Linked DNA regions of Homo sapiens: regions 1, 2 and 4 are each linked to region 3. The links are contacts of gene promoters, found by promoter capture Hi-C in blood cells and fetal thymus (Javierre and others, 2016). All regions are on one chromosome and are shown on one strand. The core of a region is centred on a gene start or on the middle of the fragment in contact, and the rest is flanking DNA. Distances in the headings are between cores, read along the strand shown.

Region 1 (2,905 bases), core at 362-2,861, 270 kb before region 3:
AGGGAGACCCTGTCTCAAAAACAGAACAAAACAAAACAAAACAAACAAACAAAAAACAGCTACTTATTGGGTACTATGCTCACTCACTACCTGGTGACGGGATCATTTGTACCCCAAACCTCAACATTACACAATATACCCATATAACAAAACTGCACACGTACCCCCTGATGCTAAAATAAAAGTTGAAATTACACAAGAAAAAACAAGCTATCTTCCTGACAAATATGATTGTCCTCAGTGTCGAAGGAGAGTCAGGAGTCCAAGGATGGAAACACAAATGATCAGGCCTGCTGGAAAACCCCTGCAGAACAGGCTCTGTGGGACCTTTATACATAAATGGTCAGATTAAAGATGTCACAAACTCTTCTTGGGTGATCTGTTTTAAATAGGAGTAAAACATACTTCTCCGACTTCTCATTCAATGGTTACACTGATAAATCTTCATTGTTTCAAACCTACCAAAACCCACTAATTCTTTATGTTTCCCTTTACATATGAATAGTATTTTCATTATAATTTTCTTAAAAAGTAAAAATAAGTTTTAAAATCATATTCCCCAGATGATTCTTCTAGAAATAGAACTAGTTGACTGGCATTCCACCTATCCTGAAAATATCACATCAGTTCATCCTCAGAAACCATCAAGATTCTACACCATACAGAATGAAAAGCAAACTCAAGATCATAGCAGTTTTGAACTCCCACAATTTGTGCTCAAACTTCCCTTCTATTAAGCTTCCTTTCACGCATCTGAATTCCAGGCAAACCAGGATTTAACTTTTAACTTTTCTAAGTTAAAAGGAAAGTGCTGCTTCAAAAGGTTTATATATGTTGAGTTTTTCTAGACATGGCCAAATTGACCTCCTAACCTGTACCCATTTATACTCACTGGTAAGGTGCAGAAATGCCTGTTTCATCACTCTATCCACAGTATCTTTTTAATGTTCCCAAATGGATAGGCAAAATTTTTGCCTTATTGTTTTAATTTTCCTGTGTTTGACTATCAGTAAGTTTAAGCATTTTTTCAGGGGTTTACTGACCATTTGTATTTTTTTCCAGCTTGACTATTTAAGTCATTTTCCTAAATTTTTTGATTAGAATGTTCATCTTTTTCTTAAAAATTGTGTTTTAGGAACTCTTTTGTCTTTGTCGCTCCTGTTATAGGTATTTGCTCATGATTTGTAGTTCATCTTTAAAACTTTTGCCTTATTTTCTTCTGCACAAAAGTTTAAAATGTTCATGAAATCACACCTGTTAATCTTTTCCATTATGGATTTTACTTATTCATTTTTACTTTTGGTTGTATTTAGAGACAGGGTCTCATTCTGTTGCCCAGGCTGGGGTGCCGTGCCATGATCATAGCTCACTGTAGCCCCATCCTGGGCTCAAATGATCCTCTCGTCTCAGCCTCCTGGGTGGCTGGGACTATAGGCACACACCACCACACCCAGCTAATTATTTTTTAATTTATTTTTTTGCAGAGACATGGTCTTGACATATTGTTCACACTGGCCTTGAACTCCTGGGCTCAAGTGATCCTTCTTCCTTAGCCTCTCAAAGTGCTGAGATTTCAGGTATGAGCCACGACACTCAGCCCCATTATGGATTTTAAACTTAGGGTTGTGTGAAGAATGTGTGGTTTTGTTTGTTTGTTTGTGTTTTGAGACGGAGTCACGCCCTGTCACCCAGGCTGGAGTGCAGTGGTGCAATCTCTGCTTACTGCACCCTCTTCCTCCTGGGTTCAAGTGATTCTCCTGCCTCAGCCTCCCGAGTACCTGGGACTACAGGTGCACGCCACCATGCCCGGCTGATTTTTGTATTTTTAGTAGAGATGTGGTTTCACCATGTTGGCCAGGTTGGTCTCGAACTCCTGACCTCAGGTGATTCACCCGCCTCAGCCTCCAGAAGTGCTGGGATTACAGGCGTGAGGCACCGTGTCCGGCCGAAGAATGTGTTTTCTATAAAAAGATTGGAAAACATTCTTCTACATTTTAGTCTAACAGTTAGTTCTTAAAATTATTTTTAGTACACTTAATTCTTCAATCTTTCTTAAGTTAATTTAGGTTTTGGGACGAAATAAGTAAATATTCAATCCTGCTGGAATTTATTTAGGTTTTCAGATTTCCTTTCATTTCCTCCAAGTGAATAGCCAAGTTTGCCAACTATTTTTCCCAATGAAACAGTTTTTTATCCAGACCACCTTGATAATTCTTTATCAATTCTATTTATTTTAAATTTTATTTTTAATTGACAAATAATAATTGTACACATTTATAGAGTACCTAGTGATGTTTTGATATATGTGATATACAGTGATCAGATCAGGGTAATTAGCATATCCATCATCTCAAACGTTTATCATTTCTTTGTGTTGGGAACATTGAATACTCTCCTTCTAGCTATTTGAAACTATATATTATTGTTAAGTATAATCATTCTACAGTGGTATAGAACACTAGAATTTATTCCCCCTGTCTAGCTGTAAGCTTGTTTAATGAGGCCCTTTTCCTATAAAATTCTGACCTAAATATATTTTTAAAATTCTACTGCTATCTACATCTTTTACCAATTACTTGCTTAATTGATACCTTGTTCAACAACGTAAAAGACTATGATATGCCTAAGAAATATATCATTAAGTGTCTTATCAGAAATAATTAGCTTGATTATCTAAGAGACGAAGCATAGGAAAGTCTCCAAGTAGAGTCGGGCTGCATGCAGTACAAACACAAGTGTAAAAGGTGTTCATGGAAAATATAATCTGCTTAACACAAATTCTCTTTACCCAAAACTTTGCAGGTGTGAATCTGTTGTACTATGACAGGCTGTCCCAACTTCACAAATGTATAATAAATATCTGCTTATCCCAAAACAATAAAGAAACTCTTATCAGGTTTTAAAG
Region 2 (2,835 bases), core at 96-2,595, 290 kb before region 3:
TGTAATCCCAGCACTTTGGGGGCCGAGGCAGGCGGATCACCTGAGGTCAGGAGTTTGAGACCAGTGTGGCCAACATGGTGAAACCCTGTCTCTACTAAAAATACAAAAAAAGTTAGCTGGATGTGGTGGCAGGTGTCTGTAATTCCAGCTACTTGGGAGGCTGAGGCAGGGGAATCTCTTGAACCCGGTAGGCAGAGGTTGCAGGGTTGCAGTGAGCCTAGATTGTGCCATTGCACTCCAACTTGGGCGACAAGAGTGACATTCTGTCAAAAAAAAAAAAAAATTTAAGGTCCTAAACTCATTTAAGTGAGAATCTAGGCTTTACTCTTCAGACTTTTTAAAGCATCACAGATCCTTGTTCACTTAGTAAAAATCCTACTATAAAGATGACTTCTGTCCTGTTTTCTGTCAGGGTCACCTAAAAACAGCACTCTGCCTTTTGCAGAACTGGTGCCCAATTCTGGGGATGCCCTTCTAAGACCATTGTGTTACTTACCGAAATTGGGTGACCTGAACCGACTCAAAACCTTGAATTCTTTCATATGCTTTTTTAAGCTTAGAAAGAGAACAAAGAACAATGTGTTAATTGTTCTTCCCGTACTTCAGAAAGACATTTGAGCAAAAATTGATACAGACAATAAATAAATCAACAGTAGCAAAGGAGCAAAGAAAAGAGACACAGTGGGAAGTAATTGCATGTCATACAAATACAGTTAAAATAACAGTTGTGAATGTATACATACACACACACATATCCATACATATACACGTATAAAATGTACCTTTGAGATTGCTAATAAATTGTGAATAACCAACTGCTTAGAATAGGAGATGAATTTGATGCCAGATCGTAGAATAAATTTACCCAAAATCCATTTTTTCCTTATGAAAAACAAGCCATTAATTTTTACAGGTACTTAGACCGAATCCATCTATTAAGTATTTGCTCGGGTCTTCAGTTAGAGCTACACCTGAGCCAGCATCCTAGGCAGAGGGACACTGATCTAGTTTTTATGTGACTTTATTATAAAGTTGAGAGTTTTGCTCAGTAACTCTCTTCAGCCTCTAACAACAGAGTTTTCTTTATAGAACAAATCCCAAATGCTGACAATTGAGCTTAGATCATGATTTTTTTTTGTTTTTTGATGTGGAGTCTCACTCTGTCACCCAGGCTGGAGTGCAGTGGCACAATCTCAGCTAACTACAAACTCCACCTCCCGGGTTCAAGCAATTCTCGTGCCTCATCACCTGAGTATCTGGGATTACAGGTGTATGTCACTATGCCCTGCTAATTTTTGTGTTTTTTAGTAGAGATTGGGTTTCACCATCCTGGCCAGGCTGGTCTCGAACTCCTGACCTCAAGTGATCTGCCTGCCTCAGCCTCCCAAAGTACTGGGATTACAGGCGTGAGCCACCATGCCCGGTCCATAAAAATTTTTTATAAAAAAATTAAAAGAGAAAATAATCAAGAAGCCTTAGTATATTGCTAAAATAAGTGAGCAAAACTGAACACAAGAGAAGTGCAAAGAAGTCAGCTGCTAAACTTTCCTAGAAAGAAGATACTCAGGGAATTTCAACTGTGGGCAGAGCAAATAACTGTTTTGTTATTTGCTCACTGAAAACGAATAATTAAGAATATGTATTAAATATACATGCTGAATTGAAAACATTTGAACTTGAGTGTAGCAAACGATTCCTTATATAATAAGTAGAAAGTGCTTACTTGAATTTCAATTCCATTTGCATATTTGGAGTATATAGCAGAAGATGAATTCAAAAGGTCATTTGTAAACCTTTCATTAATTTTGAAAGTGCCCCAAATCTCTGTAGGAAATAAAAATAAGTTTATAGACATAATAAATTTCTAACTTGATTTACTAGTAGCATACAATTATAGAAGTACAATTCAGAGTCATCTATTCAACAGTGATGTTTCAAATTTTTTTCATAAGAAATGTTCACCTAAAATAACACAGGATGCATACATAAAAGCAGAGTTTCTGACTGCAGATTTGGAGCAGTAATAGGGAAGTGCTGGTAATCAAGGCAACCTTAAAAGTAGGTAAATGCGTGGCCTCTCATGTGTCACTAAAGAAGGCATTCACTGAACTCTGAAATGTATCTTCATCTGGGCAATAAGCTTAAGCATTGTCCCTATTAAAAATTAAACGATGACCGTAACAGCAACACTACTTGCTAACTCCAACACATTCCTTACTTACCCATTGCCAGTACTTCTCTGCAATGGGACAATTCTCTGTGTGGACAAATTCTATTTATCCTTCATTCAGGACCTAGTCAAATATCATCTCTTCCACAAGGTCTTCTCTAATCCTCAGATGCAGAGTCTTTCTCTCCTCTAAATTCCTACAGTACTTTATCCCTATCTGCCTCCCATCCTCTTACATATTCCTAAACATTGATTTGTGTATGTCTCATCTATGCACATCTCCACGGTACTGTGGGAAGCTCCTCATAAGTGTCATCCCTGTCTGATCCAGTTTTGTATCTTTCAAAGATGGATTAGACATGGACCACCTTTTTCTTTCCTTTCTTTCTTTTCTTTTTTCTTTTTTTTTTTTTTTTTTTAGTCAGGGTCTCACTTTTGTCACCTAGGCTAGTGTGCAGTGGCACGATCTTGGCTCACTGCAGCCTCAGTCTTCTGGGTTCAAGCAATCCTCTTCCCTCAGCCCCCCAAGTAGCTGGTACTACAGGCACACACCACCACACCTGTAAATAGCTAATTTTTGTATTTTTTGTAGAGATGCATTTTTGCCATGTTGCCCAAGCTGGTCTCGAACTCCTCCTGAGCTCAAGCAATCAGCCCGCCTTAGG
Region 3 (2,937 bases), core at 173-2,672:
AACTTGCCCCTTCACCCCAATATTTGGAAATAAAGGGAGGGAATTTGGGGGAAGTTGAGGGTAAGTTTTTGGTCAAGATGATTGACCCGAGATGTGGATGCAGCTTAGACGATGAGGGAGACTGCACCACCCTGCAGGGTCACCTGCCTAGCCACAGGTAAACGAGGGATCGGAAAGACTGTAGAAAATTCATCTTCCTTCACACACATCTCCTTCCCCCTCCCCCCATTCCAGTGCCGGCGCGCTGGCTGGCTGGAAGCCGGCGCTTTGGAGGCGCCGGAGAGTGGGTCTAAGGGTGATATTTCGGCATACAGAACCTGAGACCCCACCCGAGCCAAGAGGGAAGAGAGAGGGTAAAGGGATTGAGGAGGGGGCGGCTTGCGCCCTGCTCGGGAATGCACCGCGCGACAGCACCCGGAGGTCTCCGGTGTCCGGCGCGCACCGGTACCACTGTCTTCCACTGCGGTAGCATCCCGACATGACATTGCAGCTGCAACAAAGCGCCGGCCTCGGCCGGCCGTGGGAGCCCCACACCGCGGCGAGGCCCCACACCACGCAGAGGGGCAGTGGCCGATGGGTGGGGGGCTGTGGCTGCGGGCGTGGGGAGCGCGAGGTAGGCCGAGTAGGGGGAAAAGCCCTCAAATGCGCAGAAGCTGGGCGGCTACCTCTAGCGTCTCCTCCAGCAAAGCCAGACTGCAAGGAAAACAATTCGTCTTCATTCCCCAGCCCCGGCTGAGCCCTGAGATTCCCCCAAATAACCTAGTCGAGGCCCTCTGGTGTGTTGCCTTCCCTTGGAAACCCCTCAGTGCCCGTAACCCAGTCGGCCGGGCCCCGCGCCTCCCTAAGCCCCGGCCCGGTGACCCGCCCGGCTCCCGGAGAGCGGTTCCTTCTGCTCCGGCGCCGCCGCCACCCCCGGTCCACGCAAGCGCTCACCAGGAGAAGGGAGCCCGCGATCATCGTGGCTGTGGCTCGGCGGGCGATGCGGCTGCAGGAGGCGAGGGCGGTGCTGCTGCTCGGAGAGGTCCCCATGGCTGAACCGGGGACTCGCAGGGGCGCCCGGGGCGCGCGGGGCAGCTGGAATCGGCGGCTGCTTCTGCCCAGCGCCGCATCCACCGCCGCCTCCCGGGCCGGGAGCCCATCTACCTCCAACACCCCATGTGCACTGCTGCGGCCGGGCAGAGGAGGGAGGCGGCAAGGGAGGCTCTAGGGGCGCTCAGCACCTGCCCAGCGGCGCGGCCGCCCAGGCGGGGAGAAGCCGCCGCGACTGCAGCCCGCGTCTCCGGGTGCTCTCCTCCGACAGCGGCTGAGGAGAACCAGGGAGGAGGACTGGGCGCGAGAGAGCAAAGGAACGACTTCCCATAGCGAAGCTTCCAGCCACTGCCAACCACCCTCCTCCGCTGCCCAGACTGGTCGGCGAGGGACTGAGTCGGTGGCCACCGGGCGCAGGGACACACGTGGTGGCGCCGAAGGGGCGGGGGACCGGCCCTTTGTGATGTCACCCGGGAGGAGGCCGGGCTCTTTGTGCGGTTGGAAAGGCGAAGGCGTTCCAGGTAGAGCGGGGAGGGAGAGGGTGCCCCTTGGCGTTCGCTGAGGAAATTGCACGCGCCTGTTGACCCAGGGAAAGCGCTGAGAAAGCATCTCACTCCTGATCTAACTTTACTTATTTTTTCCGAGATAATTCCAACTAAATTATTTCAGCTACATACGCCTTTCCATTGTTTCGGACACGATGATTAAATCAGAGAGCGATGGTGAATAGACCACAGAGCACTTAGATCAACTGCGTGACGAAAAAGGAGACCTGTGTGTTGCTTCTCAAACTTTGCTGCCCTGTGGAATCACCTGGAGAGTTCAAAACATATATATTGATTCTTGGGTCCCACCTCTAGAGACTCTGATTTAATTGGAACAGGACAGGATCTGGTCTGGGCATTGAGGTTTGTTGTTGTTGTTGTTTGTTTGTTTTTTAAGTTTTCAGGGTGATTTTAATATGGGGCAAAGATTTTAATTTTTTATATTTTAATTTTAATATGGGCTTATGAATGCAATTAAGGAAATCCAAACTAAAAGGATTTAAAACCCAGAGTCATTGGTGTTGGGTCCATGGATGGTCTTGGAGGGACTTTTGAACTCCTTGAAATGTATCAAAAGATGCATTTTCCTAATTTAAAAATCAAGAGTTTTGAATCGGATTATCCCTGAGATTTTTTTTAATCACCCTTCCCCCAAAAAATAATGCTAAAAATTTTTGAGTTGATTTCCAAAGGCCTTGTCAGGATGTGGGTGGTAGAATAGGTAGTATTCTGCTTCAGAAGGAGAACTGGAATATTCTCGTGGATGTTGGTATCTCACACACTTCTGAATGTAAGAGAGCAGCTGTTATCCTTTTCTTTGTTTCACCTGGGGGAAGGCCGAGTCTCCTGACTGTGGCCACCATTTCTGGTATCGTGTTATCCATCATCTAGGTACTGACAGCACATGGCACACTGTATTGATATTACCTCTTCAGCCATCCAGTCCACACCCCTCAATTGGGAGCCCTATGGTGCTGGGCTTATCCTAGGCTCCTTTGGTCCCATTTCAAAAGAATCACACTTTTTAAACTATCAGTTTCAAGATCCAACACCCAGTGCTAATAAAGGTAACTTGCTAAGTCATAGGTACCAATTATTTGCTTTATTAGTTAACATGTTGTCCTTTGATTCTTTGCTCTATGCACACTTTGGTAGAAGCTAAAATTAATATGAGGGTTAATTCCAATCTATTATTTCAAACATTTGTCAGTATTGTCTATAAATGTTAGAGTGGGAAAAAAGCTACAATATATAACCTCTAGTGAAATTCAAAGGAGTTCTAGAAAATATTACCATTAATTATGGAGTTTTGGGGAAAGGATGATGGTTGGACTTGCCACTCTCTAGCTATTTTCAGAAGTTG
Region 4 (2,972 bases), core at 313-2,812, 450 kb before region 3:
TCAACCTGATAGCTAATTGGAACAAAAAAGGGAAGCTAGATGTGATGGCTAGAGAAGTAGGTTAAAGTTGGGTGCAATGGTCACTTGGATAGTCGGTATGGAAGCACAGTTGCCACTTTTTGGTTTTCCTCATATCACTTACCCTGCCAATCATTAAAGTGACTGACCCTTCCAATTTTCCAGGGACTGTTCTGGTTTATACCTTTTCTCCTTGTGTATTTATTAAGAGTGCCCTCTTATATTCTCAAAATGTGTCCCGACTTAGATGATAGATTATATGGTCACCCTACCTGTATGATTACACTTCTGCTTTCTAACTCTCTCTTACTTAATCGTATAGAATAGCTCAAATTCTGTCTTCTACGAAAAGCATTTGATAGATGTTCCAACCCAGGAAAGTTCCTTCCTCTGAATGCGTAAGTATTGGTTTTATATAACATACTTTCATTTGTGGCATCTCCAGTAGTGTCATCTTGTGTTCTAATTTTGATATTGCTCCAATTAAATTATAAGCTCCTTAACAACATGGACCATGTGCTACATTTCTTTACATTCTTCTCATTCCTATAATTCCTAACATAGTACAAGTCATATAACTCAGCACACAGTAAGTATCCAGTAAGTATATGCTGAATGGATAAATCAAAGGAAGCATGATAGAGCAGCATGATCCTTTTCCATTGAAAATGTATGTAGGTATCTAGAATTGGGACTTGGGCCCACATCGAGTTCAGATTACAATTTCTATCTTTCTTCATTAGGATAATTTATATCTCTCATGCCTCATTCATCAAGGTCCAGCTCAGATGCCTATTTTTTTCAAGCAGATCTTCTTAATTTATCTTAGCCAAATTAATGTGTATGTAACTACCCAATTCGATTATTTTCTTTACCAGAGACAAAGATCTGATTTGGCCCATTTACCTTGACAGCACCTATAATCATGCTTTGCACATAGTAGAGATTTTAATAAATTTGGTGTGAGACAAGAGAAGAGATAGAAGTTAATTAGATGAAACACATATAAGTATTACCCTTTTTTTCAATTATTTACCCAGTGGTGAGAGGATTTGGAATTGGTTGTCTGAAGATGTCATCATTACCTATAACCTCACCAGTTGCATCACCAGAATTTTTTAATGTAATTCATGGAATTTTAGGAGTCTAACAACAAATCAAGTGTGGAGGTCCCATTTTTTTACATTGACAGAAGGAAAGGAACTTCTGCCCTGTTACATAGCGGTAACCTCTATTATAGGTAAGAGAGGCAGGGTAGTTGCTTCTTCAAAAGCACAAGTTACTTCCAAGTAGTCAGAAAATTTCATACCTGTAAGAGCATCAAGCCCAGCTATTTTTTTTAAAGAAATTGATGAAGCTTGTTTTTTTATATTGCTCCTTTTTCTGAAAGGATTATAGCAATTTTCTTGGTATCAAAATTACTCAAAGGAGAGCAATAAGAGAGAGGATAATACCGCTGCCCCCTGGAGGTATGGAACACATGGTACTGAGAAGTCAAGGTTAAGGTATCTAGTCGGTCTGAGAGCAGAACACATACTTAGTTGTCTTAGTATTTGAATTGAGGCTTTTTTTTTTTTTTTTTTTTTTTTTTGCATTTCTAGGGTTGCATCTCCTTTGGAAATACACAAATAAAAGTAGTTTTGGAGCAACACAAAGCAGCACCAAACCCATTTTCCTAAGTGCTGAGAAATATGATCAGCCAGATAGATCGCCCCACCAAGAGCTCAGAGTGGAAGCTTTAAGGATCACCTTAGCCATCTGGAGCAGACTGTTTATTGGGGCAGAGATGCAGTCATTTCTCTTCTCCTCCCACTGGGAGCCTACACATTTGTAAGTGATGGTCCCGCCAATGGGACTCTCAGGGCTGCTGGGAACGTTTGAGAACCGGCATAGCTTCTGGATGACTTTCCCCGGCTCTCCGACACCTATTACGGGATCCTGGCATGTGATGTTTTCCCCTGTGTTGGAAACATTGAAATAAAGGGATAATTGCAAGGAAGAGACAATATAGTAGAAATACGGTCAGGCCAAGGTAGAATTTTGATGTTTGAATTCACATTTACCTTTACTTTCCGTCACCTTTTCAGAACTACCCAATTTCTTAATTTTGCCCTTGATTTTCCAAAGCCCCTCTCTGCTTTCCACATGAACCTGACTTCTGTAATCGGAACTTCCTTTTCCTAACAGAATTTTATACCTTCATCTGGAGATTCTCAACTGTGACATATTAGAATCATCTGGGAAGCTTTTGAAAACACCAGTGTCTGGGCTAAGTAAATCGGAATCGTCAGAGCGGGATTTAGGCATCAGCAGGTTTTTAAGCCTCCCTGGTGATTCCAGTGTGCTGTCAAGGTTGAGAATCACTGCCATAATCCAAAGACATAATTGCTAGTAGGAACTCTAGGTACCCATGACCTGAATATTCTAATCAATATGTTTAAGCATTTGTTCCTTCTGGTTTCCCTTAGAGGTGATTCTATTTCACCTCTTCTCATGACCAGGCAAGGATGGGGAAATGACACTTGCTGTGGAATCTCTCATGTCCAGTGGACCCTGACTCTGATGAGACCCCTCCCTCACCAACACTTTTCTTTAACATTAAGATCTTAACCACTGTATATAAATCTTAAATAAGTAATGTTCTACTAGGAAAAAGAAGCGAAACCATATTTGGTATAAAGAAAGAGGAGAAGAACAAAGATAAGTGAATAAAATGTGTTGGCTAAGATGAGTGATGGGGAAAAGAAGAGGTGACCTTTGCTGCACCCTGGAGGGGTTGTACTTGTGCGTGGAAAGGTCAGGTGAAAGTGACTCTAAATTGTTTCCTGTTTTGGTGCCCAGGGGCTAGTTGCCAACATGTGAGAATGACCACAAACTATTCAGTAAACTCAAACAATCTTGGTGATAACGATCCTTTGTCTATCACAAGTCCTGTTGCTGGGAAGATTTAAGAG

Evidence for each region. Contacts are between HindIII fragments. The CHiCAGO score rates a contact against its expected background, and 5 or more counts as called.
Region 1: a fragment that was not itself captured here is called in contact with the fragment with the promoter of TNFRSF21 in region 3 in 2 of 17 cell types (M2 macrophages and M0 macrophages); the score reaches 6.6 in M2 macrophages.
Region 2: a fragment that was not itself captured here is called in contact with the fragment with the promoter of TNFRSF21 in region 3 in 2 of 17 cell types (M0 macrophages and M2 macrophages); the score reaches 5.7 in M0 macrophages.
Region 4: a contact is called between a fragment that was not itself captured here and the fragment with the promoter of TNFRSF21 in region 3, in 1 of 17 cell types (fetal thymus). The highest score is 5.1, in fetal thymus.

Annotation. Positions count from the first base shown.
Region 1 is chr6:47,036,214-47,039,118 of GRCh38, forward strand. All of the region lies in intron 1 of ADGRF1 (adhesion G protein-coupled receptor F1), which reads right to left. Among named protein-coding and RNA genes, the nearest start is that of ADGRF1, 4.7 kb to the right of the region's middle. The HindIII fragment of the contact is 1,751 bases long and covers 737-2,487 here.
Region 2 is chr6:47,020,235-47,023,069 of GRCh38, forward strand. ADGRF1 (adhesion G protein-coupled receptor F1) reads right to left here. Exons shown (of 15, transcript NM_153840.4): 6 at 1,724-1,824; 7 at 497-555. Among named protein-coding and RNA genes, the nearest start is that of ADGRF1, 21 kb to the right of the region's middle. The HindIII fragment of the contact is 1,585 bases long and covers 554-2,138 here.
Region 3 is chr6:47,308,483-47,311,419 of GRCh38, forward strand. TNFRSF21 (TNF receptor superfamily member 21) reads right to left here and starts at 1,423. Exons shown (of 6, transcript NM_014452.5): 1 at 934-1,423. The coding sequence starts at 1,029. RefSeq lists enhancers at 374-1,096, 1,260-1,439, 1,391-1,685 and a silencer at 890-1,119. The HindIII fragment of the contact is 9,028 bases long and covers 1,366-2,937 here.
Region 4 is chr6:46,861,121-46,864,092 of GRCh38, forward strand. ADGRF5 (adhesion G protein-coupled receptor F5) reads right to left here. Exons shown (of 21, transcript NM_001098518.2): 15 at 1,768-1,976. Among named protein-coding and RNA genes, the nearest start is that of ADGRF5-AS1, 41 kb to the right of the region's middle. The HindIII fragment of the contact is 379 bases long and covers 1,374-1,752 here.